2 separate regions of the Homo sapiens genome follow, and region 1 is linked to region 2. The links are contacts of gene promoters, found by promoter capture Hi-C in blood cells and fetal thymus (Javierre and others, 2016). All regions are on one chromosome and are shown on one strand. The core of a region is centred on a gene start or on the middle of the fragment in contact, and the rest is flanking DNA. Distances in the headings are between cores, read along the strand shown. Region 1 overlaps TMTC1 (transmembrane O-mannosyltransferase targeting cadherins 1). Region 2 holds the start of TSPAN11 (tetraspanin 11).

The links. The method cuts DNA at HindIII sites, captures the fragments that hold promoters and counts their contacts. A CHiCAGO score of 5 or more calls a contact.
Region 1: a contact is called between a fragment that was not itself captured here and the fragment with the promoter of TSPAN11 in region 2, in 4 of 17 cell types (naive CD8 T cells, naive B cells, activated CD4 T cells and 1 more). The highest score is 8.8, in naive CD8 T cells.

The regions. Positions count from the first base shown.
Region 1 is chr12:29,581,144-29,584,088 of GRCh38, forward strand. TMTC1 (transmembrane O-mannosyltransferase targeting cadherins 1) reads right to left here. Exons shown (of 18, transcript NM_001193451.2): 8 at 2,264-2,431. Among named protein-coding and RNA genes, the nearest start is that of OVCH1, 85 kb to the left of the region's middle. The HindIII fragment of the contact is 315 bases long and covers 1,328-1,642 here.
Region 2 is chr12:30,925,483-30,928,444 of GRCh38, forward strand. It overlaps TSPAN11 (tetraspanin 11), which reads left to right and starts at 1,266. Exons shown (of 8, transcript NM_001370302.1): 1 at 1,266-1,314. LOC124902911 (a long non-coding RNA gene) reads right to left here and starts at 1,207. Exons shown (of 2, transcript XR_007063264.1): 1 at 1-1,207. The HindIII fragment of the contact is 3,619 bases long and covers 1-2,880 here.

The DNA of each region.
Region 1 (2,945 bases), core at 235-2,734, 1.3 Mb before region 2:
TCTAACTCCATACCCTGCACCCAACCACTAACCTTAATGTGCCTCATAGATTCTCAGTAAATGTTTGTTTGACTGACCTGAACATTACTTAGCACAAATGAATTCATAAAAACATCTGTTCTGGCCTTGAAGGAAAAAGAACAGTCTTAATAGTCTTTTAAAGTCTCAGATTCTTAAAAGTTTTCTCAGGACATAGATAAATGATAATAGGCAAAGATTTCTAGAAAATATCAATAGCTTTGATTTACACATTACACAAAATTTGATTGGACCACCAAAGGCCTCTTTAGTTGCAAAATCTCTTTAAGCACGAATGTGGAATGGTTGTGTTTTAGAAATCAATTGATGTGAAGATACTACATACTTCCATCTAAAACAATAGAAGCTTCTGGATGCAAGGCCAATCAGCTATTTTTTTTTCTTTTTTTTTTACATCTTTGGCATCAGCTGTAAAGGGTTTGAGTACTAAGTCTGCCAAAATCCATTCCCAAAGTTGCTCTGATTAAGCAGTCAACATCATTAGAAAATACAACCACTGTTAGTACCTTTATTCAGGCAAAAGGTTTAGCACAGGGCAGAACTGTTTCTAAAGATGCTCGTAAAAGCTCTGACTAGTGAAAGAGAAAGGAAGAAAAAACTATGCCAACAGAGACTCGGAGGAAGTTATATTACTGAACTTAAATACTCCTGTGTTTACCGAATGACCTTAGTTAGCATGAGGCAGAAGGAAGGAATGAGTCTGTTGTGGTCTGTGAGAATCGTGTTTAATAGAAAGGGGTATGACAGGGACTTAACAGAATCTAAGAGTGATTTTGCAGATCTGTGTGGAAAAAAAAAGATGCATTAAAAACAATCCACACAAAAAACTCTACATTGAGCTCCCTACAGTACCCGCTGAAATGATCATAATGACGATCATGACAATGATATGTAATACGTAATAATACATAAATAAAGTAATAGGACATGCATGCCAGACTGACTTTTTGTTTTATATTTTAAAAAATGTCAAATTGCCAAGTAAAATCAAACACATTATTTTAAAATAGTAGAAGAGTGCAGTGAACCTTTGTCTTATTTGTTCTTTCACTCATTCATTCATATTTGGCAGCCCAGAGATTATTCCCCCTTCTTACAGTGCTTGGATTTCCTGCTGGGAACTTCCCTCTTGCCTCACTTTGAGAAGTCTGGGTGGAACCCCAAGGGGCTCTGCCTGCCCTAGCTCCCTCCATGGAACTCAGAGGAGGCTTCTTGGTCAGATCAGTCCTCTCAGTGCCTTGCTAGGGACAAGGGGCAGGCATGTGACTAATCTTAAGTTCAGCCAAAAAGCTTTCTTTTCCTAAGACTTTGATGTGTACATCCAAAAACCTGGTGTTAAGTTTACCTGTTTGTTTCTGAGAGGGTGCTCAAGACGGATTTTCCAGATGCCTGTTTCCTGTCTTGGGTGTGCCGGGTTCTTCACTTCCCTTAATTCTGTATGCCTTCCTAGCCTCTTCCAACAGTTTCCCCTTTCCTTAAGTGATATTAGCTCTGCTTCAATTGTTTGCCCCCAAAGAATAAGTGTTGGGTACCAGCTAATCAGGAAACCAAGAAAAAAATCATGGTGACTAAATTGACCAATCAGGTCATAAGTGAGGACAGAAGCTTGGAAGAGGCCCAGACTGGGGATTCCTGGAAGACTGGGCAAATATTGTTTGGGTGTCAGGTGTGGCAGTGCCAAGAGAGCCAGGCGAAGGTCGCCAGGGCTGCGGCATTTAGTGAGGCTGACTAAGCCCCAGAAACACAGCATCATGAATGGCAGTCTCAAAGAATGTTCAAAATTAATGTTCAAAATAAAGCAACTAGGTCACAGATCACAGCGTATCATGCTGGAATATTCTAAAGAAGGATACTGCATTTCTCTTCCCTCTGGCTGTGTGCTCACTTTTCACATGCACTTCTTGGTTTCATTTTGTTTATAGCTGATTTTACAGCCCTGCTCATCATTAAAACTGTTTCCATCTGAATTCACAGACTCAAAAACTTTCCCAGGAGCCTTATTTTCATAAATTCACTTAGAAAGAGCTCATGTTAAGTTTTATATATCATTTTAAAAATCTAAAGTTAAAACCCCACATAAAATTACATCTTCCATTTAAAACTTTATTAAAGATAATTTTCCTTAGTAAATACTGCCAGGCCCATGTTACCTCATTTGTTTGGAAACAATTTGTAAGCAAAGAAATAAACAGGAAGATATTTATTTTTATCTGTCTAGTCATACCTGAATAGGGACTCTCTTGACAGCCAAATTTCATTCTGTTTCACAGTTTTCCAAGAGAAAAGCAACAGCAGCAACACAGTGGACACAATCAGGGTGGTGGCCCCACATCGATTCAGCCAAGTGCAGAGCTTGCTCAGTCCATGCACAAAAAGGATGCAGTAGCCCATGCTGGAAAACAGGGTGGAAGGAACGGGATTACTTTGGGGGTGCAATAGCTTCCCCCCAGAATTATCTCCTACAAAACTAACTTTCAAATGAAGCTTGTCCTGTGCTAGAGAAACAAATAGAAACTCCCCTGCCTTGGACAATATTAACATGTTAGTTCTCTAAAGTGCTGCACTAGCAGGTTTGCTATTTCTTGTAGAAATATTTCTTGCTATTTCTTCAGTGTAGGGAATGAGAGAGTCATCTTGTAGGCTTAAAGTGCCCTGGATTTCAGCAGCTGAGGCATCATGAGAAGTCCCACATATAAGCTCTTGGGTCCTGAATGGCTCCTCTGACCCAAGCTCCCTCATGTCACTGTCATTGTATGACTCTATTGGCACTATGCGCCTAAATTCGGAGTTTATGCTGCAGCAGGTCACACCACAGCTTTGTAGGGAGAGTGTCTGAAAGCTCTGTGTCAGGTCCTGGAAGGATGCTGGTCACCAAGGAGGACTGTTCTCTGTTTCCAGGGCCAGCT
Region 2 (2,962 bases), core at 16-2,515:
TGTCGGCCCAACTTCTTTCCAGATGATTCCAAAATTGACATCCCTTGCCTCAGTCTCTCCTATGAACTCCAGAATCACCCTTCCAATTGCATTTGCTGGATATCTGCCCCTGGAAGAAGGTGGCCTGCTTCTCCAATCCAACTTGCTCCACACTAAACTCAGTCACATCACTCCAGGTTCTCCTCCAGACTTCCACAATGTTACAGCCCCAGTGTGCTCCTCCTACACCACACAGTCTGTAGACTCTCCTTTGCTGCAGCTTCCGCATTCATCCCCCAGTTAAGGTCCTCATCTCACGGGACTATTGGAATCATCTCCTTCCTGTGTGGCCCCCCGCGAAGCCCTTCTCAGCAGCCAGCTGGGGTATTTAGAACGTTGGTGCTCCCGGTACAGTGGCTTTGTCAGCGTCCCCTGCCTCCAGTGGCTTCCCTGATCTAGCAACCTGGTAAATGGGTAATCTTCCTCACTGCAGCTAAGTTTCAAAAGAACACGGTTGGATAAGCACAAGGCCCTTGTTACTTTGGGAAATAGATAATCCATGCCCCACTGTTAGGGCCAGTCCCGTTAGGGCCAGCTTTGCACCTTCACAGGGACTCAGCAGGAACAGATGGGCTCTACTCTCTGTTATTCCTTTTTGCTTCAGATTAGAGAGACCTTGATTCTCCCCGGGGCCCAGGAAATGTAAAGCTGATGCTCCACAGGACTCTAAGAGGGACACGGCAGTGATGGGGGCTGGTGAGGAAGGGGGATGGAGAACCTCTCTCTTATCAGACAGGCTTGTCCCTAGGGTCCCTGGAAACCCCCAAAGGCCAACCTCTCCCAGGGGCCGACAAACGTAAAGGGCAGGGAGACCTAAGCGGGGAGCTGCGGAGCGCGGGGAGTTTGAAAGCCGCTCCACCGCCCTACTAGTCCGTCCTTTTGCCCCGCCCCCCTTAGGGATCCCCCCGGCAACCGCACAGCTGCCTCGGACTCTGACTTAATTCCCTCCGCGTGCTCTGAATCGCAGAGAGGCAAACCCCCAAACAAAGAGCCGGCAGCTCGCGTGCGGGGCTCCCGGGCGCGTCCTGCCGGCTGGGCTGGGAGAGCCGGCGCCGGGGCGTCGCGGCCGAGCGCTGGGCAGGCGGGGACTAGAGGGCCGGCAGGAAGCCTCAGTGGGCGCAGGGGCGCGGGCCGGGCTGCCCACACGCTGACCTTCCCGGGCTGGGAGGGAGGAGCGCTGGCTGCGGGCGGTGGGCGGCTGGGCGGCCCCGGGAGCCGCCGCTCTCAGTCTCTCTAGGCGCAGCTCCCTTCGCCGCTTCCGGAGCCCCTGGCAGGGTAAGTGCAGAAGCGCGCCCGAGGAGTGGGGGCGCCGCGGGAGGGGGCTGGGGGTCCAGGAGAGGCGCCTCCACCTCCGCTGCCCGCCCCGCCGGCAGTCCCGAGCTAGACTGTCCCGAGCTTCCCCCGGGCGGGCAGAGGGAAGCCGGCTGGGGATGAGGAGTGGAGGAGGCAGGAATGCCTGGGACACTCGCGGGGCATGTGAGCAGGTATTGGTGTCTGCATGGGACACGCAACACGGTGTCCATAACTATGCGCATGAGTCTGCCTTTCTGCACTTGTGCCTTGGGAGAGAGCTCTGGGCCTCTGAGGGCCTCGTGCCGTCCAGCGTGCCCGGGGCATGTCTGTTCCTCTTGAAAATGTCATTCTTTGTCCACCCTGAATTCGAGTAGCTGCCTCTCATGGCTACACCAAAATGCTGTATCTGGTGCACATTGCTTTCAGAGGGCCTGTCTGCCTGTGCAGGGATGTCCTCATGTTCTGGGCACGTCTGTGTATTTGTGACAACATGGCTGTGTAGGCCCTGTCACCTGTGTTTTCGTGCCCATCCCTGCATGTGCAGTTGGCCGGCTCCGTGTGGAAAGAAGGCATGGAAGGTTCTGGGGTGTATCCTTTTCACCAGCCATATGTGCAGTGTGCACATGTGTGAATTGGTGGAAAGTATGAAAGGGAGGCAGCCCAGTTGGGCTTGGCGGGACAGCATCTTAACTTGAGTCTAAGCTGCTGTGTGCAGGAGGAATAAGTGTTCCAGAGGTCTCCAGTTCGTGGCAAGTATTGTGAGGTGAGCGTGGGGGTGGGGGGTGAGGAGAAGAGGCAGCTTCTGGAAAAACTCATAAGTGCACTCTGGGGCATAGGGTGTGTGTGGGGGAGCGTGAAGAAGAGAATGAGGGTGGTATTAGGCCAAAGTGGATAGTCTGTGTTCAATTTGTGGGCAGCTGGATTGCAGTGGAAAGCAGCAGTTAGAGGCTGGAGACAGGTTTGAATCAGAACTTAATGGTTGTCACTGTGTCAGTAGCATTGTTCCCTGGACAGATAGGTCATCTGGGGCTCAGTTGCTTTTTGTGCAAAATGGGACTAATAACCACTGGCCCCATCTGTCTCCCAAGGGACTGGAGGCTCCAATTAATGCCTGGAAATGCTTTGATGATAGTTAAGACTCCTAGGGTAAGGGGCACTACTGGCCTACAGGGGCCAAGTTGGTGGTCTGGCGAGGGCTTAGGTGGCCCAGAGCTGTTTGGTTTGTGGGTAGCAGAGGGAGGCATTTGTGTGCTGTTTCCCACTATATTCAGCATAGCAGGAATTTTATACCCACCTTTGGACTCGTGTGTAAAATATGTACAGGCCTGTGTGATTCCCCATAGTTCTTGTGTGAGTGCTGCAGAACAAGAGGAAAACTGGCGTTGATGTCTTTAAGTCTGCCTAGAGCACCTTGACTTTCCAGAGAGCCTTTCTTCAGATGAGCCCAGGACATTTATAACCACCAACTTGCTTTTCTTTTTATGCCGCCAAATGAAGCAGTAAGGAGCACCCTTCACAGTTTGTAGCCAGGGAGATAGGAGATGAAGAAGCTTTCCCAGCCAAGGTCACAGGCCTGGGGTGTCCACCACCAAGTTCTATCTCTTGGGTTACAGTGCCTTCAGACCCAGGG